Linked DNA regions of Homo sapiens: region 2 is linked to region 1. The links are contacts of gene promoters, found by promoter capture Hi-C in blood cells and fetal thymus (Javierre and others, 2016). All regions are on one chromosome and are shown on one strand. Each heading gives the region's core, a stretch centred on a gene start or on the middle of the fragment in contact. The rest is flanking DNA. Distances are from core to core; before and after follow the strand shown. Region 1 holds the start of METTL14 (methyltransferase 14, N6-adenosine-methyltransferase non-catalytic subunit). Region 2 overlaps BBS7 (Bardet-Biedl syndrome 7).

Region 1 (5,648 bases), core at 2,136-4,635:
GAAGTCCAGGATCAAGTTGCCAGCAGGTTTGTTGTCTGGTGAAGGTCCAGTTTCTGCTTTCAAGATGGCATCTTGAATGCTGCAACCTCCAGAGGGGAGGAATGCTATTCTACATGGTAGAGGGTAGAAGGGCAGAAGAGGAACTCTCTCTGCCAAACCCTTTTTATAAGAGTACCTAATCCCATTCATGAGGGCAGAGCCGGTTATAACTCAATCACCTTCCATACACCACACCTCCCAATATTGTTGTATTGGGGATTAAGTTTCAAAATGAATTTTTGGAGGAGACAAAAACCTACTGCCAGCCTCCACCTCCAAACTGGGGATTGCAATTCAACGTAAGATTGGGCGGGGACTTATATTCGAACTGTATCAGTGAGGCAGCAAAGTATTGTATAAAATGCTAAGTGGTTTAGGTATTTATACTCTCGAACCTAGACATGTGCTGACTAGTACGGTAGCTACTAGCTATGTAAACCATAGAAGAGATTGTGGAGGGCATTCTAGTAAGATGTATAATAGGCAACTAGCTACACAGGCAGTCCCTAACTAACATAAGTTCCACTTACGATTTTTTTTTTTTTTTTTTTTTTTGAGATGCAGTTTCGCTCCTGCTGCCCAGGCTGGAGTGCAATGGCGCCATTTCAGCTCACTGCAGCGTCCGCGTCCCCAGTTCAAGCGATTCGCCTGCCTCAGCCTCCCAAGTAGCTGGGATTACAGGCGCCCAACACCTCGCCTGGCTAATTTTTTTATTTTTAGTAGAGATGGGGTTTCACCATGTTGGCCAGGCTGACCTCCTGATCTCTGTTGATTCGCTGGCCTTGGCCTCCCAAAGTGCTGGGATTACAGGCGTAAGCCACTGCGCCTGGCCCACCTAACGATTTTTTGACTTACAATGGATTTATTGGGACATAGCCCCATCATAAGTTGGGGAGCATCATGAGTTGTAGAGTATAGGTTTGGAGGAGTCAGTCTCCAGGAGCTTGGGGAGAGATGCATAAGTTATAATGTGGATCTCTCTTTACTTCCTTAAATTAAGTGCCTAGAAGTAAATTGCTTCTTCAAAAAGTATGGATTTTATGTGAGGACTTCCGAAATTTCTTCCCCCTCTTCCTGCCACACACACCCCCTAGTGGCCTTTATGTTGTCATAATGAACAGATGTTACTGATGGGCTTGTAAAATTCTCTACAAGTATGCTGATGTGGTCTGGTGTTTTAAAATTCATTAGTTGGGAGAGAGATTTCAAAATTATATCCCCTTCTTTGTACAAACTGCAACAACCCTCTGCCCAACTCCAACAGTTTTGTAAATATTACATGGAAGTACATATCTGCATCAGTACAGTTCCAGGCAGGAAAACAAATAATTAAAAGTATTTTAAACAGACGCCATTCACTATGGAGAAATAGTTAAGCAGATATTGAAGGCTAGAAGAGCAAAAAGGGAGAAGTAAGATTAAATCAGAAATTTTAAACTGCAGGATGGCTACCAGTCCTTGAGCTGGTGGAACAGAAGGTAGAAGTAGTAGTATCATAGCACAAGAGCAAACTCACTCACTGTTAAGGGTGTCACTTTCTTAAGGTAAGGAAAGGAGGGGCTGCTCCAACTGGCTCTAGACTTTGTAAGGGACATAGTCATCGCTCTAGATGCCAGAAGCAGAGAGTAAAATAAATGGACAATAGCTTTCCCATGTTCCACCTTTTGATTTCCTGCCTGTGCCTCCTGTGGGCAGAGTCTTACAGGAAGCCATCTAACAAGGAAGGCTGGGAAATGTAGTTTGTGGACTCCCTGCCTAGCCATCATCTCGAAGCAGAGGGTAGGTGAGTATGGGGTTCAAAGATTACAAGCAAGTAACCTGCATAGCAACTTATCAGGAAAAAGAAAAATCCTCCATTAGACAGTAAACTCATAAAGAAAAACCGACTTTAGTTTTTAATCTTTGACAGACTTTATAGACTCTAGGGCCTATCACAGTGCTTGCCATATAAAATGCTCAATCAATATCAACAGATATTTAAGTGAATAATTGCCTATTCTCACCATTGGTAAAATTTAAATCAGTATTCAACTTAAATGATTGCCAGATAATACAACTGATTTTTAAAGAAATACACTTTAACTCATATGGACATAAATATTTTACAGTATCCAAGTAGTGCTGACATTACTCAAGGAATTGTTTAGGACTACTTGTTCAAAATTGTCTTTCAGACCTAGTTCTTCGGAAATACATTATAATTATTTCTATAAAAGTGGGCATGACTAAGTAGAATCTAGTCTTGCCCACTTTTGGCCCAGCCTGACTCAACTGGTTTTGATCTGGATGACTTAATATTATTTCTGAAAATTAAATCTACTCTGAAAGAACAGACTTATTACTAATTTTGTTAAGTACTTACCGCGATTTCCAATTAAACTTGAGGCAACATGATGTCTTACTCCACTTCCGCCACTGTAGGCTTGAAATAAGATGGCAAGTGTGGTGAATAATAATGGTAATAACTCAAATAAGACTTTGGCCTTTGCTGCCATCCTATGAAGACAGAATCACCACCCCCCAGCCCTCACCCCTCACCCCCGCAATCCGAGTAATTTCAGGAAGCTATTTGTTTCCTTATCCTTGGGTTATTTTCAGTTAAGACAAATGTACAAGCACAAAAAGGAGTCTCTTAGCTTCTGACTCCTAGGACATAAACCAAGACACGCTTTACTATCACATACTCATTTCCCTAAAGGGAAGAAGCCAAAAAATGCATACTATAGTAAAATGGGAAACATTTCAAGGGACAGTAAGGTGTGGGGAAGAGTGGGCAGATGTTGTGGCTGTTACCTGCGTGAAGGTAAATAAAATATTAACAATAACAAGCACTTCTACACCGCTATGTGCAAGGTGCTATTTATCCTTTCAATCACAGCTCTGTGAGGTAGACACTTATGACTCCCATTTTACAGATGACAAAACTGAGGCTCACGAAGGTGGTTAACTAGCCAAGGCCACTCGTCTAGGAAGTGAGAGGCCAAGGTTCAATCCTAGGCAATCTGGCTTAAGTTTGTGTTCTGTTAAAAAAAAAAAAATTAAAGGTTATCTGGCAATTTTTTAAACGTCAGGACTGTCATCTGTGGAATCAATTGAAAAGGGAATCAACACTTCAGAAACTGTAATACACCAAGGGAACCTGCTATCCTGGGAAAGAGAGATAAAGGAGAAGTCAGCTGACTGTCCTCCTTCAGACTAGCTCAGACCACCCCAACCTGCGAGGGCCCTGGAGACCCCTGTGGCGCAACAGATCCCTTACTGGGTCCCTTCCAAGTGGCGTCACATAGCAAGCGTCCAGAAGGAGGCGGGACTTCCGGGCCAAGCGAGCCAATTCCGGCCGCGCCGGAAGTCTCTACTGAGGAAAGCTATGAGGATACTCTGTTCGTAAGCTCCCGGTGAATTTTGTTCCACAGACTCGGAAGAAAGGTTGGATAAGAGTTCACTGGAGATTGACAAGTACTCGGGATAGTGAAAAGCCGGAGTTGGAACATGGATAGCCGCTTGCAGGAGATCCGGGAGCGGCAGAAGTTACGGCGACAGCTCCTCGCGCAGCAGGTCCGCGGCCCTGGTGTCCCCTGTGGGAGGGATCGAGAATGCGAGTGCGCGGCCGCCTCCTCCCTCCACACCCCGCCTTTTTCTGTCCCTTCTCTACCTGCCGCTGTTAAGGCCTTTCTGGTCCTGCGATCTTGATCCCTGGTTCTGCCTTTGTAGTTCTCAATTTTCGCGGTGTCCCGAATGTTTTTCCAGTTCCTTCCGCGGTCTTTGTGGTGCTAAACCGAATGCCAGGATTAGCCTTTAAGCTTTGTGGAACTCCCACCGAGTGTCTGGCATGTTCACGCCAGGATGAGTGTCATGTTATCCCCTACATTTCTCTTCACTATTAAATGGTCATCTATTTCTTTCTTTTCTTCGTCGTCAGCCCCAAATTCTTGAGATTGTGGTTTCATTATGAAATACGTTTACAGTATTTTCTTTGACATCTTTCTGAAGACAACACTGGAAGTAGCCTGAGTGTAAATTTTAGATTCTGCATCTTATATAGAGTATCCTTGTCACATCCACAGTTAATATTTGAAATCTTACTCTGTGTTAGTCACAATAATCTCCTGAAACAGGTATTATTACCTTCACTTATCAAGTAATGAAAAAGGCTCCATACGTTAAGGAATTTTACTCCTGGTCGCTCACTTCTCTGCTGGGAAATAGAACCTAGGTTTGTCTCCCCAAAGCTTGTCTTCTAAACCATTGTCCTTCACTTCTTTCTTGTGTATGAGTAAGTTAACATTTGCTGATTAGTAGAGTGCACATGCAGAAAATACAGATTGTGCACAGTTCTACTTAAAATCGAGGCTGTATTTTCCATTCTACTATTCAGATCAGTAAAAGTGATAGGAGCAATGCTCATAGAGTGTAATTAGTCATCTTGCAGTTATTTTTCAGTAATGAAACTTGGTTTTAGTAAATGGACTTCTGAAACCTATCCTCTTTATGGTCTGATGAACAGATTTGTGGAATATGGCTAAAACCGTGGAAACTTGGAGTCAGATTTGTTCCTTTGTTCCTTATCCCGCTGGCATTACGATCTTGGGCAAATCAAGTATCCTTTCTAAGTCTTCTTTTCGCCAACTTCTTTTATCGTATTATCTTCAAAAATGTTAAGTAGCTCTTTGTTGCTACCACAGAAGACGTTTTACTCCTTAATATTGAATTCAAACTTCTATTTGACTCAATATACATTCATAGGACAATTATTTGTTTAGTGTTTTACACTCAGCAGATGCCAGGGGCTCTACCTTTTAAAGTCTTTTATGAATTGGTTGCACTCTACTTAGCCAGCCTTATAACCATTATTTGTTTACATTTGTTTGTATTTTGCAAAATTTTCCAAACTGCCAAACAAAATTTATGTTACCATTTTAAGGTAGTAAAGTTCAGCCTTGTGTCTATAAATAGTAAGACTTAGCTTGAGTAAAACTGGATCGATTTTTATTAGAGCATAGAATAAATAAGTTATATAAGCTGATGCCTACAAAATGTTTAACATGGTACCCACAACCCTGTGCAAACACTGTCTTATCTGCCTTTTTTAGTTATTGCTATTGCAGGTTGAATATCTCTTATCTGAAATGCTTGGGCCAGAAGTGTTTTGGATTTCAGATTTTTTTCAGGATTTGGAATATTTGCATATTACTTACTGGTTGAGCATGCCAAATACCAAAACTCAAAATCGGAATGCTTCAGTGACCATTTCCTTTGAATGTCATGTCAGTACTCAAAAAGTTCCAGATTTTGGAGCGTTTTGGATTTTGGATTTTCAGATTTGGAATGCTCATTTTATATTAAATCGTGTGTATTGCTTCACAGGAAATTGGCTAAAGTGTCTTATTTTCAAATACAGATGGTTCCAGACTTACTATCATTTGACTTAACAATTGACTTTATGATGGTTTGAGAGTGATAGGCATCCAGGCTGCTCATTGACTTACGGTGGAGTTGTGTTCTGATAAACCCATCATAAGTGGAAAATATTGTAACTTGAAAACACACTTACAACGTTTATTTTGAAACAGATTTACTTTCAACTTACAATGGGTTTATCAGGACATAAC
Region 2 (5,648 bases), core at 2,173-4,672, 3.1 Mb after region 1:
TTAAACCTAACTCACTATAGTCAAAATGACTACATAAGACATCTTAAAATGCAAATCATTAATATCATCTAATAATTATAATTACCGTAATTCCACACAGATTTTCCTTAAAACTTACCAAAACTACCATCCATTGGATAATCAAGAGGGACCAATGGTTTTCTGGGTCCAGGTAAACTAATGGCTGAATTAAAAGCCAGGGCATCTTCACGCTCTATTTTTTGAGATTCAGCTGGCTTCTTCTGAGCTTCTTTTTCTGCTTCATCCACATGAATGGTGAACGCAGGCTGTTTACTGTTTGCTTTCCAAGGAGGAACGGTGACATGCTCATCATTTACAGGAAGATCCTTAAGGGGTGCAACCTAAAAAAAAATTAATAACTGGCTTTGAGCCTACTAGTCTTGCATTCTTTCTCTTATGGGTGTTGGCCTTTGCTTTTTCTCCCAAATACTCTATCAGGAATTAAACTTTCTGGGACAAAGAAGAGTTTCAGTATTCAAAAGAGAAGGGATGTTCCCATTTGTCACAGGCATTCCCACAAAGGCTATCAATAGATAACACTAGGTGGAATTATGCAAAACTTATCAGGGCCACAAGAAGGGTCGGGTGACAGGCCAATACGTGACAAGTTTAGGAAAGACAGCAAAAAAATTGTTGGTTCACCACTGTCGCCCGAGGGTGGAGCAACAGAGCAAATCCGGCTAAAATGGCGGAATTTGCCAAAAGCAAAGTATTTTGTACACGCTTTTCTAAAGTAGAGGTCATCTCTTAAGCGTGAGGAGGATAGGGGTCAGAGTCCTACAGCAGTGCCTGGGGTTTAAAAGTGGAGAGAAAGGCGCGGAGCTGAGCGAAGACTACACGTTTTAGAGCTTGGTTTGACCCCATTATGTACAGGCAGATGCCCCCTATAGAGAGCAGACCGGCAGCATACACACAGTGTTGGCGGGGTCCTGATGCTAATATGGGAGAACTCCTACTGTGGCAAACCACACACCAGCACCAACTGCACTCCAGACCCTGGCCCCCTTCCAAAAGCCCAGGACATGCCTTCTCGCCACTCTTCTCTGCCTGCTAAGCCAATGCCAAACCCTGCTCGACCCACCCTCCTGCAGATATCCCGCATCCCTTTACCCGTCTCGTCTTCGGCCTCTGCTGCTGCGCTAGACCCCGCGGGTTCCCGGACTTCAGTACCGCCAGCGCGGCCCGGGTCCGCGGTTGTTGGACGGGCGCTGCCTTTTCCGGGTTGATATTCTCCTGGTCCTCTTGGAGCGCCGTCTGCTGCAATGCTAGCAGCGCCGAGCCCGCCTCGCGGGTCGCAGGCCCCGGCGCAGAGTTGCCCAACATCACTGCTCCCGGGAGTGGACGGCGGGATCAGCCTGCGGCGCCAAGCAGCGTGCACTCTGCCCAGCCGACCACTCGCACCGACCCGGCCAAAGAATAGTCGTAGCCGCCGGTCGCAGCCCAGGCCAGCCTACCAGCCCGCCCGCTCGCTCACCCAGCTCGAGACCACGCAGGGCCGAGGAGGTTGCGAAAGGCGCAGGCAGGCACTGCCCAGCGTGGCGAGCCAAAGACGCCCAGAGATGCAGCGAGCAGCCCGCCGGAGCGGCGGCTGTTCTTGCAGTTCAAGTATCCCGCGACTATTGAAATGGACCAATGAAAGCGCTCGCGGCCTTGACGTCATTCAAGGCGACAGGGTCGCAGGCGAGTGAAGGGTAAACCAAAGGAAACTGAGCAGGGGCGGGGCAGGAGGGAGAAACAAACTGGCTGGGGCGGGAGAAAACGCCTGCGCGGGGCGGGGAGAGGTAGGATTTAGGGCCCGACGCTTCCGATTATTTTAAGCTGAGCCACCTAGTGAGCGAGGCTGTCCGAAGGCTGACTCTAAGCCTTTTAGGGAATTAAACGGAATTAAACTTTGGCGACTATCATTTGGGTTGCCCAGCCTTTAGCTCTGGGACGTCTAGTTAGCTTAAGTGACTTTTTCCAAAGGTCTAAAATCTGGGGCACGTTTTTCAGTATCTCCGATTCTCCGTTTTCTTATGTGTTAATAGGGACTAATAACTACAGTCATATGGTTGTTAGGATTAAATAATGTGCATAAATTATTTAACACGGAGCTCACATAGTAATACAGTACTCAAGTGTCAAGACTGTAATGTCATCTTAACATTTAGGCGTTTATTCATAGTAACCAGAAATTGTGTTTTATGCTTTTTATTTTTCCTAATGAAGATGCAATTAATTTAAGATGGCACCTTGAACTACTGTTGATATATATAATAAATAGCAGTGCATTACAAAATATTCAAATACAGTCATTAATTTTTTTCTATTTTTCCCCAAGCTGTGGCAACCAACAAAAAACACAATGACGTTCTAGTGACCTAGATATAATTATGTTCCTTTCAGAAGTAAAGTTTTTTAAACATAGTAAAAACAATATGACCTTATTAAAATAAAACTCTCTTAACTATACGTGCCTTTAACAAATTTTTATATTTATATATAAATATAAGAATATACAAAGCTTGCACATAACTAATAAGTATAATAGCATATCATTAAGAAGCACTGTTTTCTAAAAAATTCGTGAGTCTGCCCTTCTTGAAACATAAAGCTTATTTTCCATTATCTGTATGCCATTTTAAAACCTTTCAATATTCCCTTGAAATTAATAAATATGAATTAAGATTAATGCACAAAACTTCTGTAGCCTTAATGTCATATATGATAAAAAGAGATCTAGAAGATACTAGTGTAGGAAAATCTAAGATGGCATCACTATTTCTGCACTCTTCACTTGAAGCACGCTGAATAGCTCCACTGGTTACAGCATGTCTAATTAAGATCCCCCGACTCTGTGTAAGCTCTTCTTATTTCCTGGCTACAATTTATAGCACTGAGCCAAGTCCAGCATTTCCACAAACTGCAGCAGAGTCATAAAACACTACCAAGCAAAAGGAATATCAGTTGCAAATCAATCCTATCTCCTAGAAAAAACAATTGGTAGGTTATTTCCACTAGCTGGCAACATACATAGTAACCAGGACACAAAGCAAGTACCAGTACTTGGGTTCTGGTCCCAGCTTTACAAAATATTAGCATGTCCTCTTAATCACAAAATTTCACTGAGAATCAGTTTTCTTATATGATTTGACAAATTTTACAACAGTTGTGAAGATCAAATAAGGTAATATATAAAAATACATTTTGAAGCCTATAAAGCGGTCTACATGTTTATGTGTTTATGTACCTTGTAATACATTTGAATATATTTTAATTTTCCACATATTACTTCTCAATTTAAAAATTAAAACAGCCACTTGCCAAAAATTCATTAAAATCCTATTTAAATCATTCTACTTGTGTTTTAAAAATAAAAAGACTCTTTTAGTTTTAGAAAGTTCAATTTGTCAAAAGAAATAGAAGCATTACTTTAAAAAGCCATTATATCTCAAATATTTTTAGATATAAAAAAGCATTTGAAATTAAAGTACATACACAGTTAACTTCTAATTCTCTTTTAACATTTTTCATTTAAACAGACCACTTCTTTGGGACTTTACCTTATTTGTATGTCATGCTGCATCGAAGAATGAAATCAATGCATTTTGGTCATAACTGTCCAGAATTTCCAATAGAAGGGGTACTTTAGTTTTTACATTGGTGCCTTTAAACTTAAATTTATCTATGAAAAGATCAGTGATCATGCCTTTAAAGAAAAAACATAAATTTCCTGTCAGTGATTAGTTATATTTAATGACACAGTATTTCACTAAAGTAATTGCTTGATAATCTATTTTTAAGCACCTGTAATTCCATGATTTAACATACACAAACCTAAAAGCCATGTTTTTAAAAATAGTCATTTTGGGGGGATTTTAAAACAAGTTTCAAGATATAAATCATCTGCCTAATAACCCTCTTAACAATTGATTACAAGCTATTAATTCAGACAATCAACTACTGGCCATTTTTGAACTGCTATCAGTATATATAACATCACAACAAGTGGTATATTTTTTCCACCAAGCTGACCATTTTGACATAGTCTAGGCAGATTCTATTTTTAACAGCTTATCTGAATTAAAATATTCCACCTATATGTTGACCATTCTTGGGATTTGACTTGAAGGCAAATAGTCCTAGGTTCAAAGATCTGGGCAAATCATTTCACCTTGAGTTTTCTCATATGTAAAACAGGAATAATTCAAGCTGTCAATCCTTTATCCAAAAAGCTTGATGCAAGATGTATTTCAGAATTTTTCCTATTTTAGGAAGATAATGAAAGGAATATACTATGGTATTAACCCCAAGGGGACTGAGTAGCAGCATCCAATAGCAAAACATAGTACTATTTCTGGCACAAAATATACGGATGAATATTTGCACTAAGTGGAATAAAAAAGATATAACCTTGGGCTGGGCACGGTGGCTCATGCCTGTAATCCCAGCACTTTGGGAGGCTGAGGTGGGCAGATCACGAAGTCAGGGGTTGGAGACCAGCCTGGCCAATATGGTGAAACCCTGTCTCTACTAAAAGTACAAAAAAATTAGCTGGGCATGGTGGCGCACACCTGTAATCGCAGCTACTCAGGAGGCTGAGGCAGGAGAATTGCTTGAACCCAGGGGGCAGAGGCTGCAGTAAGCCGAGATCGCGCCACTGACTCCAGCCTGGGAGACCAAGCGAGACTCTGTCTCAAAAAACAAACAAACAAACAAACAAAAAATATATATAAAACCTCATGTCAGTTTAAGTCAGATTTTGTTATTAAATTAATTCAGATTAAGTCAAGATTTTGCTGTCAAATTATTTATGAAAAAAACTTTGGTTTACAAAGCTGTCTGGATTTTGCAATCAGTGATATTATGTACAGCCAATCTCATAAGTTATTATAAGGATAAAAGAGATCATGTGCTTGTCATGTAATAAAGGTTAAGACATTAAATATAGCTACAGTTTGTGAGAAAGTCTCTGGATATGTAATAAAAAATTCAGTAGGCAGGCTTAAGGATCCATGTGTACTAGTGATACCAATTGGCTCTACAGTGACTATGGAAGGCTTGGCATAGTGTAAAAGGCATGCATTTTGGGGTGAGAAGATTCTAATGCAGGCATGATCACTAACTTGCTAGGTGACAACAAATTCCTTAGACTCAGATTTCAGTTAAAGCATATGAAAAATGAAGATAATACCACCTACCTTGCAGAGCTATTGTAAGGATTAAATATCTCACCTGATTATGAAGACAGTGTAAATAGTGTGCTATATACAACAGGTCTTATGTAAAGATTGCTAACAAAATTGTTTTTCTTAAGCTGTTTCTTCCTTCCTCACTCCTTCTTTCCCTCTCCTCACCTCCCTTACTCTGTTTCAATACAATTTGTGAAACATTCAGCTTCTCACCACCAAAGTTTTGAACTATAAATTGACACAACACAAATACTGTATATCCTTTATTAAATTTTGCCTTAAAAATTTTAAATGCTGCATTTTTATAATTCACAATAGCAACAAAACATGACAATTATTTGTGTGAAATACAGTCTAAGCTCTAAAGGTTCATAGATTACATTCATTTTATACCAGGTTTGTTCATATATATAGATTAATTCATCACAGTATACTTATTTCTTAATATACTTGCAT

The links. The method cuts DNA at HindIII sites, captures the fragments that hold promoters and counts their contacts. A CHiCAGO score of 5 or more calls a contact.
Region 2: a contact is called between a fragment that was not itself captured here and the fragment with the promoter of METTL14 in region 1, in 1 of 17 cell types (activated CD4 T cells). The highest score is 5.7, in activated CD4 T cells.

The regions. Positions count from the first base shown.
Region 1 is chr4:118,682,007-118,687,654 of GRCh38, forward strand. METTL14 (methyltransferase 14, N6-adenosine-methyltransferase non-catalytic subunit) reads left to right here and starts at 3,386. Exons shown (of 11, transcript NM_020961.4): 1 at 3,386-3,594. The coding sequence starts at 3,529. METTL14-DT (METTL14 divergent transcript) reads right to left here and starts at 3,335. Exons shown (of 7, transcript NR_125930.1): 1 at 3,299-3,335; 2 at 2,402-2,461. RefSeq lists enhancers at 3,345-3,604, 3,785-3,924. The HindIII fragment of the contact is 9,570 bases long and covers 1-3,837 here.
Region 2 is chr4:121,822,285-121,827,932 of GRCh38, forward strand. BBS7 (Bardet-Biedl syndrome 7) reads right to left here. Exons shown (of 19, transcript NM_176824.3): 19 at 2,045-3,709. The coding sequence ends at 3,576. CCNA2 (cyclin A2) reads right to left here and starts at 1,599. Exons shown (of 8, transcript NM_001237.5): 1 at 1,132-1,599; 2 at 119-362. The coding sequence starts at 1,344. RefSeq lists enhancers at 1,138-1,187, 1,378-1,447. The HindIII fragment of the contact is 1,621 bases long and covers 2,613-4,233 here.